3 separate regions of the Homo sapiens genome follow, and all the other regions are linked to region 2. The links are contacts of gene promoters, found by promoter capture Hi-C in blood cells and fetal thymus (Javierre and others, 2016). All regions are on one chromosome and are shown on one strand. The core of a region is centred on a gene start or on the middle of the fragment in contact, and the rest is flanking DNA. Distances in the headings are between cores, read along the strand shown.

Region 1 (4,311 bases), core at 322-2,821, 130 kb before region 2:
GCCCTACTTTCTAATAACTACAAGCCATTTTATTGGGACAAAACAGCTAAGTAATCTAATGGAAAACTAAAGTCCGCCTTTGTTTTTATAACCAACCCAGGGAGACTAGTGGTGGGCGATGAAGTTGTATAGGGCTTCAAAATAGCATGACGGATGGCTGCATTGCTGTCCGCACATTAGGGCACCCTTCATTTAAAATAAGATTAAAATAGAAGTGACTATTAAGTGTTGGAGGTAATCGTGATCCAGGAGGATTAAAAGGAAGGGGAGAGGTGTATTTGAAAGAAAAAATAATATTCCTATTCCATCAAAGATGCTGTATTCACTTTATAAGAATTGAGAGAGGGAATTATTTGTTTTTATTTTATTCTTAGGACTTTGTTGCTTAACATAATTAGGTACATATTCTAGATAGTGCTGATTTGTATAAATGGAAGGATTCCTGGCATTATATTGGTGGGGGAATATGTAAATATATACAGTTGGCCCTTGAACAACACGGGGTTGAATTGTGAGGATCCACGTATGCAGATTTTTTTCAGTAAATATACTGGAAAATTTTTTAGAGATTTGTTACAATTTGAAGAAACTCACAGACAAACCACATAGCCTAGAAATATTTAAAAAGTTAAGAAAATGGTATGTCAGGATGCATAAAATATACATAGATGCTAGTCTATTTTATCATTTTCTACTATAAAATATACACAGATTTATTATACAAACTTAAAATGTATCAAAATTTATGTGCTCAAGCATAGACCATACGTGGCGCCATTTGCAGTTGAGATAAATGTAAACAAACATAGATTCAGCATTAAATCATAGCTGCAGCAAATTAACTGTGGCGAATATGGCACTACCGTAAGAATTTCACAGCAGCCTTCCATTGCTGCTGTAGTAAGCTCAGGTGTTGGAAGGATCCGCTTTAAACGTCCTGTGACACTCCTCGTCTCCATGTGAGGAGTCTGTCTCTCCAGGGAATTGGGAATAGCAGTAAAAAATGGTATCTTGTGGTTCTCACATATTTTTCACCGTGTTTAGTGCAGTTCCATAAACCTTGAATAACACCATAGAACCACTAAGAAGTCCCGTGCCACTAGGGACGCTGTGAGTGCTCCCAAGAGGCAGAGAAAAGTCATCACATGACCAAAAAAAACAAAAGTTGAATTGCATGATACGTACCCCAGGTTGAGGTCTGCAGCTGTGAGTGCCCCCCTTTTCAGACAGACGATCCATCTTGTGAACAGATGGCATAAACTCACTATATCCATAAATACAGTCCCATACACTAAATGTATTTTCTCTTCCTTATGATTTGCTTAGTAACATTTTCTTTCCTCTAGATCGTATTATTACAGAATTATATACTGTATTCTTAATACAGTATATAATTGTATAATTATTCTTAATACAGTATATAATTATACAAATACAAAATATGTGTTAATGGACCGTTTATGTTACTGGTAAAGCTTTAAGTCAACAGTGGGACATTAGTTAGGTTTTGGCGAAGTCAAAAGTTATATGTGCATTTTCAACTTCTTGAGGGGTCGGTACCTCTAACCCCCATGTTGTTCAAGGGTCAACTGTCTACACATATCATAGCTAATTCACTACAGAAATGTTAGCTTGTGTCACTAGTATCTCCCCTTCTCATAAGCTTAATACACATACCTTGAGAGAGCTCTTGGCCATCTCTACTAATGACTGAAGTTTTTATTTATTATAGATGTCATAATAGGCATAAAACTACATTACATCATTCGAGTGCCAATTTTGCCACCTTGACCCTCTTTTGCAAAACACCAACGTCAGTACACATATGAAGAGGAAACTGCCCGAGAACTGAAGTTCCTGAGACCAGGAGCTGCAGGCGTTAGATAGAATATGGTGACGAGAGTTACGAGGATGACGAGAGTAAATACTTCATACTCAGTACGTGCCAAGCACTGCTATAAGCGCTCTGTATGTGTGAAGTCATTTAATCCTCACAGCATCCCACGGTGTAATTATTTTCATTATCCCCATGAGGGAACAGAAACTCAGAACGGTTCAACACATATGCGAGAAGTCGCAGCCGGTCAGTGAGAGAGCAGGTTCCCGTCCAAGCAGTCAGACCCCGAGTGCACACTCTCGACCCCTGTCCAGCAGACTCACTCGTCATAAGGCGGGGAGCCCCAGTGTTCTGTTTCAGCCAGATGCTCTATGCATCTCAGAGTACCCAAACCATGAAAGAATGAGGCAGTATTCAGAGCAGATGGGGCTGGGCAGTAAGGCTGGGCTTCAGAATAGCTGGAAAGCTCAAGTCATGGGACCTGCAAGAAAAATCCATTGTTTGATAAATAGCCAAAGTCCCTAGGCTGTAAGGGGAAGGTGTGCCAGGTGCAAGTGGAGCTCTATGTAAAATCGCACCTGAGTCTCCTGGTCTTATGAGTCTGGGTGTACCCCAGTGAAAGGTCCTGCTGCCACCAAGTGGGCCATGGTTCAGCTGTGTAAGTGCTGAGCGGCAGCCGGACCGCTTCCTCTAACTTCACCTCCAAAGGCACAGTGCACCTGGTTCCTCCAGCACTCAGCTGCGAGGCCCCTAGCCAGGGTCCCGGCCCCCGGCCCCCGGCAGCTGCTCCAGCTTCCTTCCCCACAGCATTCAGGATGGTCTGCGTTCATGTAGACCTCTGTTTTCAGTCTGTGCTCCGAGGTCACTGGCAGCACTAGCCCCGGCTCCTGTGGATCACAGCCTGCTCGTCCTCAGGGCAGCACCTGGGCTTGTTGCAGAAGCTACATCTTGAAAGAGCCCATGGCCTAACGCTGGGCGCTGCAGTGAGCCGCACGGGGCCGGAGAAGGAGAGGACTCAGGGGAGCTTGTGTTCAAGTTCACTCCAGAGGATCCAGTGCCAGGTCCTGCAAAGAATTCTAAGCCATTGAGAAAGCAGTGGATGGTTTCACCATGGGGCTTCCCAGTATCACGTGGGGTGTTAGCTGCACCCGTCTTGGGGAACAGAGGTGGCTGTGCAGCTGAGTCAAACCACTGTGGCCAAACCTGGGAAGAGAGAGGTCCAGGCCAGTCCTGTCTTTAGGGATCAAAATGCATTTTTCATAGAAATCATGTGAAAATTTGAAGCAAAGAGAAACAGCAGTTGAGAGTTGAGCTATGTGAAGGAGCAACATGAACCATCTCAAGAACAGCAGTGGTGCAGAGACAGGCAGAGGCTGTAGATGCCTTCACAGCCACAGTGGAAACAGAGAAAGGAGCGTTCACAGGCACAGAGGCCGGGACTAGGAGCAGTTAAATAAAATAGAAAATAGAAAAGAAAGAAAGCAACATTTAGATGGACAAGGAAGGAGACGGGGCAGCTTTGGTAACAGATTGCATGACTGAGGAAAACGGTGGCATAAATTTCTCTTCCACCAGAAGAGAGAGACTCGAAGACGGGAAAATGACTGTATCGCCTGCCAGAATAGATGCTCTGTCCAGCCTGTGTCTCTGCACAGGCATTCTCTAATCAAAGAAGCTCCTCAGTGGAATTGGTTGGGCATTTGTATCTCCTCGAAACACACACTGGGAAGCTGCCTTTCTGGATGATTTAACCCTTTGCCCGTTTTCCCCAAGAATACTCACCGGCGGCACTTGCGGCTGCAGCGTTTGCCCCGAGATAACTTTGCCGCGAAATATCTCACTTTTATTATTATTTTTGCACCGCTCTAGTATACCAACTTTGGAAACAAAGGACATCATTCTATCGATAGCATTCTGTTTTTAGTAGTGGCATTTCCATTTACAAAATATAGTCATAATCGATTGCTGATAATGTCAAATCCTAGAAAACGTAGCATTCCTACATGGGATGTTAACTTCGTTCTCAAACAGTTGTTGGCCAAAGATTCATTTGATGAATCCAATTTTTCCAAAATAGACAATTCTGATGATTCAGATGATTCTGATATTAGTTCTGTTTAGAAATAACTCCAGTAACAGTTTTTAAATTTTATTTTCACATGGAAAATCAGATTTGTTTCAGCCTTAATGAACATGTTTATGTAAAATCAAATGAGCGCTGGCAGCGAGCTGCACTTTTGCTTTTTCGAAACGAGAAAGGCTTAATGTGATTGGCTTATGGTTTTGTTTCTCGTATGCTCAGCCCCTCCCAGCAGGCATGCGGCGGAGGACGGTCATCAGCAATAAGATGTAGCATGTGCCTTCTGCCCACTACCGGGTCCCCGAGCCCATCTCACAGGCTCCCACCCACCAGCCAAAACTTGGCTCTCAACTCTCCCACTGCAAACCTCTCCCCGGTCTTTCAACACAGGCTA
Region 2 (3,946 bases), core at 1,321-3,820:
TTAACCGCTTTTCAGTTACACCTGCTGTCCTGAAGTTAAACGCAGCCATCTCTCTGGCGTGGCTTTCCTTGCTGGGAACTGCTGCTGGCTGCTTGCATCAGCCGAAGGGTATTTGTAACGGATTCTTTAACAGCCACAGCACCAGTGAGGGCCAGCGACAGAGGCTGCTTTCACGCATTCTGTTTCAGGCCCAAGCCAATCTTTCTAACTTCTAATTTACAAGGAGCTGAAGGTTTCAAGTAGCAGAAGTAGCTGGGCAGGGGACAAGCGATGCTGTCATTTGGGTGCTTTTATCAGAGTCTGAAGAGGGGATAGTCCGTCGGCAATGCTAACTCCTCCGTACTCCTGGGGCAGCAACCCGCCATGAGAACCCAGAGCTCAGAACCCCTCGTAGGAGCATGCTTTGCTCTGAGGGTTCTGGGGAGACAGGGAAGAGGCACTGCCCCTCCTACCTGGCCTGGTGATGAGGTGGCGGACACTCAGAATGTACTTTTCTGCCTCTCAAGGGTCACACAAACTTACAGCTTTCCATGTCTCCAAGCTTCTGGGCTGGTATGAGACGTCTGGGAGGGCTTGGAGAATCCCAGTTCTTGTCTGGTCAGACACGTGCATTAATCTGATAAACTATCACTTTTCTTGGCTTAAAAAGGCCCAAATCGCTACTAGTTTGTGGGTGAGAGGTCACTTAATCCAATCACCCTGATCTACCAAGACTTTTTCCCTCTCAGCTTTAGTGTAAAAGTTGCAATCTGGCCTTGGACTCGCACTCCTGGGGTGGAGTCTTATCTCCTCCGTCCCGTTAGAGCTGTGTGATGGCAGTTGCGTAGCTACCTCGCCTCTGTACGACCAGTGTCCCAGCAGAATGGAGACAGCAGTGGAAGTCGGGAGCATTACTATGAGGCCACCAACCCATTCTCACCCCAAAACTGTCATTCCTTCTGAAGCATCCTAAGAGTAAGGAGACAGGAAGGAGAGAAGACCCCACCAGCACCGTCACAGCTTTTGAACTGCGGGGCTCCAAACTCAGATGTCTGAGTGTCCAAGTGTTTGCTGATTTTTCTCCATAGCCTGCCTCTCCAGCTGTGCCCCCATAAATGATATTTGATACCGCCCCCCGCCCCACCCCCATCCTCTCCTGCCTCACCTTCTCTTCCAGTTCTCCACTTTCCAGGCACAGAACTGTGGGCCTCCTGCCGCCACTGACGTGCCTCTTCCCACACCCATCCAGAGATTCTAAAACCTGGAATAAAACATATTGAGGAGGAGGTTTCAGTATCTTAGGACCTCACCTGTCAAGCCGATTAACAGCCTGAGCCCACCGGCAGAGACAGGCTGGCAGGGATGGAGGGAAAGTGCCTGTGAGCTGGGAGGCTTGTTTCAGAGCTGTATTGGGGTGGCTTGGGAGGTGCTGGTAGAGATGACAGGGCCCAAACCTGTCACCCCAACCCAAGCTCTGGTGAGAAGTGTTTCCCACCACCTGCCAGGTTTCCTTGACGCTCCCATGTATCCACAGCGCAGTTCTCTGAGGCCACCAACAGTCAACAAGGGGAGGCGTTGCTGCTGCCTCGGAGACTGAGGCGGCTGGGGGAGGGCCATGCTGTCCTGCTGTGACTGTTGGCACAGGGCACATTTGTGTTTACCCACAGTTGAATGTGCTCTGGAGCTAACCTGGGGCCGTAACCATCACACACCTGGTTTCCATCAGAAAAGTGTATCTGATGGAAAGTACTTTGTGGAGATCTAAGCAGCTGATGATTATCCTTAAGTAATGCAGGGACTGCACACATGAAATGTTGACTTTTTGATCCGTCACTTTGCAATTGTTCAATTATTTATTAAACAAACATTTGAATATTGTAGGATGTCTTCATGTGTCTACGACTAGAATGTAAATTGACAGTGAAGATTTATCTCATTAATTCTGAATCTCTGCTACAGTGATAAATATATTGCTTTGCTCATAAGAATTATTAAAGGGACTTGATGTCTAATATTTGCCATGTAATCAGCATTATATAGCTGAAACTGAACTATTTTGCCTGTTCATAGATACTTAGGTTTTGAATTTGAAAGTGACTCCTCAAGGGGTGGCATGAACACTATGTAAGATTCACTGAGGGTCATTTCTCCCCTCTCAGCTCCAGCCCGCTTTTCTCTGTGAAGCAGGATGTGTCCGGGGCCGCAGAGCTGCATCTACTGGCGGTGCCTTTCCCGCCGTCTCGAAGGCACGGAGAGGCTACAGGGGATTTTCTCTGAAACGTGCAGGGCCTCCACCTGTGACTCCGGAAGGCTGCCGGCTCCCCCAGGGGAATGCTCCTGGCTTTCGACGGACTACATTAACCTCGGACCACCGGAGCGCCAGCTGGGGGAGCCCCGGGATGCCTGGCGCGCGCTCCGCCCTCCGCTGTCCTGGCACTTTGCTCCCATTCAACAGTCGGTCGTGACACCAGCCGGGCACAGCCCGGGGCCTGGCAGGGCCGCGTCCTTAGCGAGCGCGCTGGGCTCCTCCTCCTGCCGGCCCGGCCCGCGTCTCAGCTGTGGGGACCCGGGGGCGCCGCGACTCGCCCACAGTCGGACGGCGGGAGGCGGTTCCTGCAGGGTCCAGTCCCGGGAGCACCCCCAGGAGGAGGGGAGGGTGGGAGCGCCTCTCTTTGAGTCCCCGGGTTTGGTCGCTGGGATGTGAGGAAGCCGGAGAGGCCGCGGCTGGACGCAGGTGGGTGTGGAGGGGCCGCCCGGACTGCGGGGACCCGCTCCGCGCACAGTGGCTGAGCGCCCGCCTCTCTTTCCAGGGGCTGAGGATCCGGCGGCTCGGCTGCACTATGCCCTTCCCGCCCATGCCGCCGCCGCCCGCCCCCGCCCCGGGGGCCCAAGCCGCGCGCCAGTTACCCCGGAGGCCCTGCGCCGCGGGGGACAAGAAGAAGAGGCCCCCACAGCGGCCCGAGGGGCTCCTCTCCAGCTCCTGGCCCTCCGCCACGCTCAAGAGGCCGCCGGCCCGGCGCGGCCCCGGCCTGGACAGGACGCAGCCGCCGGCCCCTCCGGGCGTCTCCCCCCAGGCCTTGCCCAGCCGCGCGCGGGCCCCAGCCACGTGCGCCCCGCCCCGGCCGGCAGGCTCCGGCCACAGCCCAGCGAGGACCACCTATGCGGCGACCTCGGCGGGGACGGGGACCACCGCCGCGGGCACCTCCTCGGGGGCGGGGCCTTGTCCAGACTCCGCTGCGCGCTTCTGCCTGAATCTCACCCCCGAGGCCGTCCTGGTCATCCAGAAGCGTCATCTGGAGAAGCAGCTGCTGGCGCGGCCCCGCAGGCCCTTCCCCTCACCCTCGGCCGAACCCAGGCGCCTACTCGCCCCGTGTCTCCCGGCTAGGGCCGCGGGCCCGCGGAGGGGCGGCCCCGCCAGCGACCCCGACGCACCCCCCACCGCCGGCCAGGGCCGCCGCGCGCCTCCGCCCGGCGCCCAGCTGCTGCACGGCGGCCTGCAGGTTCCCCAGCTCAGCCCGCGGCCCGGGGCCCTGCGGCCGATGCTCAAGGTGTCGCTGCTCAACGAGCGGCACAGGTACGACGACGTGGAGTACGAGGAGGAGCCAGAGGCGGTGGACGAGGGCCTGGTACGCAAGTGCACGGAGTGGCTGCGCGGCGTGGAGTCCGCGGCTGCCGCGCGGGGCCGGGCGGGGGCCCTGGACTCACGGCGGCACCTGAGCACGCTGTGAGCCCAGCGGGCCTGCGGGGACAGGCCAGGCCTGATCCCACCTCACTTCCTGCACGCGCCACTCCGCCTAGGGGCCCTCGGGGGAGACCGCAGGCTCCTCTGGCCGCCAGCGCCCACTTTCGGGACACCAGTGCGCAAGCTGGCCCACGTGGGGCGCAGCCAGACTCGCCCGACGGCCACGGCCCCCCTCCTGCCCTCGCCAGCCGGCAGCCCGGGCCTTTCTCGTTCACACCGGTGGTA
Region 3 (4,395 bases), core at 165-2,664, 150 kb after region 2:
TCCCTTGCTCACACCTGCAGTAGCGGTGCTGTCCCAGGTGGCTTACAGATGAACCCAACTGTGGAGATGATGCAGTTGGCCCAACCTCACTGACGGTGAAAAAATGTTTGCCAGGGTCCAGAAACTTTTTTTGGTTTATTTCTCATACAGTGTATTGGCAACTTTGGCACACCAGAATTTGTAAACTCCACCAGTCCTACTTTAGTGAGATAAAAAGCACACTCTTAATCTTCTTCCTTGTTGCTTTCAAGTAGTTAGAGTTGAGCTGTTAAGGACAGAATAAAATCATAGTTGAGGACAGCAGGTTTTAGTTGAATTGAAAATTTGACTGCTCTGCCCCCTAGAATGTGTGTATTTTAAGCATATGTAGCTAATCTCTTGTGTTGTTAAACTATAACTGTTTCATATTTTTCTTTTGACAAAGTAGCCAAAGACAATCAGCAGAAAGCATTTTCTGCAAAATAAACGCAATATGCAAAATGTGATTCGTCCAGTTATTAGTGAAGCCCCTCCTTTTGTGAGTATTTACTGTTTATTGTAGCTGGTGGTAAAGACCTTATCCCCAAAAAGCATTTTAATCTATTAAGAACTTTAATATTGTATCTAATTAGTTGCAAAACTGGAAGTGAAATTTGCATAGACTTAGTGCTAATTGCCACAGCAACTTAAAAGATGTTAAGTAATTTTTAAGAGATTTACTCAACATTGAATCATGGATGATGTGGATAAAGACAGAACCTAGAACATACTGATGTCATCAAGATGAATATGGGCTGTCCACCCTATTCAAGCTAAAGTACTGTACATAAAATAAATGGATAAAAAGTTATCATTTGTCAATGAAAAGTGTGGTTACCGTAGCACTTTGAACAAAATGGCATTTATAAATATCTTTCCCGCTGCTTTTTCTCAAAAGCAAAACACAACTGCAATGGCGCTGGATTGGGACAATTTCTCCATCTAGTGGCAGAATCCTTAATGTTGACCCTACTTCCAGCTTAGTATTCCAAACCTTGTATTCCTTAGTATTCCAAGTACACCTTAGTATTCCTTAGTATTCGAAGTTACAGGTGGCCAGTAGGTTAGAGCTGGGTTAGTAATGCAGGAGTGTCAAAGCGGCATTATGAATATACTAGCAACATGGACATTAAGGCTCAGGGGTATGATATCGCCCACAGGCGTAGCAAAAGTTGTTTTTTCCAAGTCAGCGTTGCTAACTTTACCACTTGTCCAACTCTGACTTCTTTGGACTCCACTTACCAGTTCTAGGACAAAGTGGTGTTTAGTTTGTTTGTTTTTGCTTTATTGAGTATAAATCCAGAGATGACGTGTAAATAGCTAGCTTTTTAGCATCATTTGTGCCTGCTTTCCAAGCAGGACATGCTTATCGTAAATTATCATTTAAAAGTTTTTCTTGGTTTTACGACTACTCATTTGGCAATACCCCCAAATCAGGAGATTGATTGAAGTATTTTGGGAGAATACATTGATTAAACCCACTGTCCAGGTAGTGTTGGGAAGTAGAACTAGTTCCAGACATCTGGACTGTGGCTTCTAATTGCATAGGTGCTGGTTCTGCTGGAGGAGGTCTGGGGGACATTTGGGAAGGGGTTAAGGGCAGGCAGTGCCACCCTGTGATCCCAGTGTCCGGTGATCCCCTCTGCACAGTCCACCACCTCACTGAACCCTTGTCCATCTCCACAACCCTGACTGCCTGGGTTTTGTATTTTCAGGGTCTGTTCCAGTGCTGGCCCCTTTGCGGGCATCAGTAACACTAATAGTGTGGGAATAAGAGGAAAACGTTGTCGACTGAGCTTGGGCAGCTGAAGCGTACAACTGGGGAACGTGGCCCCACTGTGGGGGCTGTGGGGAGACTGAGTCACATGCCCCTCCCCTGGGACCTTAAGCTCTGAGGTTGGGGGGAAGACCATTTTCACATGTGGAAGATAGATGACGACTTGAGAGTTTGAGTTTCTAAAGGTGTCCCAGAGTTCAAATTCTAGGAATTAACATTTTAATAATTCAAACATGGTCTTTCTGGTTATGCAATGTGGGCAGTGGCAGCTGTATACTGGAAAGAGCCTGGAATTTGGTATAAAAGGCCTGGATTTTGGTGTTCATTTGGCTGACTTGCTGTGAGACCCTAGGAAAGTTATCTACTCCCAAACTTCAATTTTCTGAACTGTAAAAATGGAGGAAGAAAATGCTTAACCATCAGGGTGGTTATAAGAAATAAAAGAAATAATTGCCCAGCGCGGTGGCTCATGCCTGTAATCCTAGCACTTTGGGAGGCCAAGGCAGGCAGATCACCTGAGGTTGGGAGTTTGAGACCAGTCTGACCAACATGGAGAAAACTGTCTGTACTAAAAATGCAAACTTAGCTGGGTGTGGTGGCGCATGCCTGTAACCCCAGCTACTTGGGAGGCTGAGGCAGGAGAATCGCTTGAACCTGGGAGGCGGAGGTTGTGGTGAGCCAAGAACGCGCCATTGCACTCCAGCCTGGGCAACAAGAGCAAAAACTCCGTCTCAAAAAAAAGAAAAAAAAAAAAGATATAATCTTAGAGAGTTAGACATCGCAGTTAAGATTCTGAGCCCATAAGACTCCTTGTAAACCCAGCTCTGTTTATGAAGCCCTTATAACAAATAACAAGACGCTGCTGCACATGAGAAACTCATGTCAAGCTCTCAGGCCACCTGCCGCAATTTGGAAGGCACATTTCTCATGTCTGTTGGGAAATTCCTCTGAATTATCCTAACATTCAGGTGAGTGCTGACCAAAAAATATTTAGTTCACTCTTGAACATGGAATTCTACAATCTGAGCACCCTGTCTTTGGGGTTTCAGTGGAATTGACCAATATGTAAGGTGGGAGTGATCTTTAAACCTGCAACTGTTTTAATATCTGTGACCTGATCCTATTTTTTATTTTTGTATTGTTTTTGTGACCGGGTCTCGCTCTGTTCCCAAGGCTGGAGTGCAGTGGCCTGATCATAGCTCACTGCATCCGAGAGCTCCTGGGTTCAAGCAATCCTCCCACCTCAGCTTTCCAAGTAGCTGGGACTATGGGTGCACACCACCATATCCGGTTAATTTTTTTTTTTTATTTTTTTGTAGACATGGGGCCTCACCATGTTGCTCAGGCTGGTCTCGAACTCCTACGCTCAAGTTATCCTACCACCTTGGACTTCCAAAGTGCTTGGGATTATAGGTGTGAGCCACTGATCCTAGCCTCTGATCCTCTTATTATATGTATTTTCCTCTGAGAAGAGATAGTAGTGATATATAGGAATTATGCTTTCTAGAAAGACTTTTTTTTTTTTTTTTTTTTTTTGAGACAGGGTCTTACTCCAGTCACCTAGGCTGGAGGGCAGTGGCGTGGTCTTGGCTCACTGCAGCCTCCACTTCCCAGGCTCAAGCGATCCTCCCACCTCAGACTCCGGTGTAGCTTGGACTACAGGCACACACCACCACGCCCAGCTGACTTGTATTTTTTTGTAGAGACGGGGTTTCACTATATTGCCCAGGCTTGTCTTGAACTCCTGAGTTCAAGCGATGCACCTGCCTCAGCCTGCAAAAGTGCTGGAGTTACAGGTGTGAGCCACCTCACCCAGCCAAGAAAAAAAAATTTGAATCGTGCATTTAAAAGGTGAATTTTGAAGACTATATTCCTACTTAGGAATATGGGCAAATCAGTATATGGCATCTGTACAAAGATTAAGACAGTTTACTTATAATCAGGTTTAAAACAGCCTAATCATTAAAACTAGAAGTTAATAGAAAGTTAAAGAGATCCACGACTGTGTTAGTCAGGGTTCTTCGGAAAAACAGAACAAATAGGAGATAGATATTATATATTTGTACTTATGTTTATATTTCTACATATGGAGAGGTTTATGATGAGAATTGGCTCATGCAATTATGGAGGCCAGTAAGTCCCACCATCTGCTGTCTGCAAGCTGGGTAGCCAGGAAAGCTGTCAGCATAATGAGTCCAAGCTGAAAGGCCTGAGAACCAGGTGTGCAGTGTCTGAGTGCAGGCAAAGATGACGGCTCCGCTCAGGCAGAGAGAGCGAACTCAGCCATCCTCTGTCCTTTTGTGCTAAATGGCCCTCAATAGATTGGAAGCTGCTCACCCACATTGGTGAAGGTGATCTTCACTCTGTCTACCAATTCAATACTAACCTCTTCCAGAAATGCCCTCACAGACACCTAGAAATACTCTCTTACCAATTCTCTGGGCATTTTTTAGGCCAGTCAACTTGACACATAAACGTAACCACTGTAAAACCCCAATCTGTTTTCTAGCATACTATTATATTTTAGAAAGTCTTGTGTATTACTAAACAGGAAAATTATGGTGCTGTATAATATAGATACTCAACTTATTACGACAACC

What was found. Contacts are between HindIII fragments. The CHiCAGO score rates a contact against its expected background, and 5 or more counts as called.
Region 1: a fragment that was not itself captured here is called in contact with the fragment with the promoter of PRR18 in region 2 in 1 of 17 cell types (total CD8 T cells); the score reaches 6.2 in total CD8 T cells.
Region 3: a fragment that was not itself captured here is called in contact with the fragment with the promoter of PRR18 in region 2 in 2 of 17 cell types (neutrophils and M0 macrophages); the score reaches 6.8 in neutrophils.

What each region holds. Positions count from the first base shown.
Region 1 is chr6:166,440,174-166,444,484 of GRCh38, reverse strand. All of the region lies in intron 14 of RPS6KA2 (ribosomal protein S6 kinase A2), which reads left to right. Among named protein-coding and RNA genes, the nearest start is that of RPS6KA2-IT1, 23 kb to the left of the region's middle. The HindIII fragment of the contact is 188 bases long and covers 1,478-1,665 here.
Region 2 is chr6:166,307,016-166,310,961 of GRCh38, reverse strand. PRR18 (proline rich 18) reads left to right here and starts at 2,570. Exons shown (of 1, transcript NM_175922.4): 1 at 2,570-3,946. The coding sequence starts at 2,820. The coding sequence ends at 3,707. It overlaps LOC107986669 (a long non-coding RNA gene), which reads right to left and starts at 3,414. Exons shown (of 3, transcript XR_001744464.2): 1 at 3,239-3,414; 2 at 1,145-1,240. RefSeq lists an enhancer at 2,138-2,417 and a silencer at 2,488-3,087. The HindIII fragment of the contact is 8,012 bases long and covers 544-3,946 here.
Region 3 is chr6:166,153,741-166,158,135 of GRCh38, reverse strand. TBXT (T-box transcription factor T) reads left to right here. Exons shown (of 8, transcript NM_001366285.2): 8 at 1-480. Among named protein-coding and RNA genes, the nearest start is that of TBXT, 12 kb to the left of the region's middle. The HindIII fragment of the contact is 6,113 bases long and covers 1-4,395 here.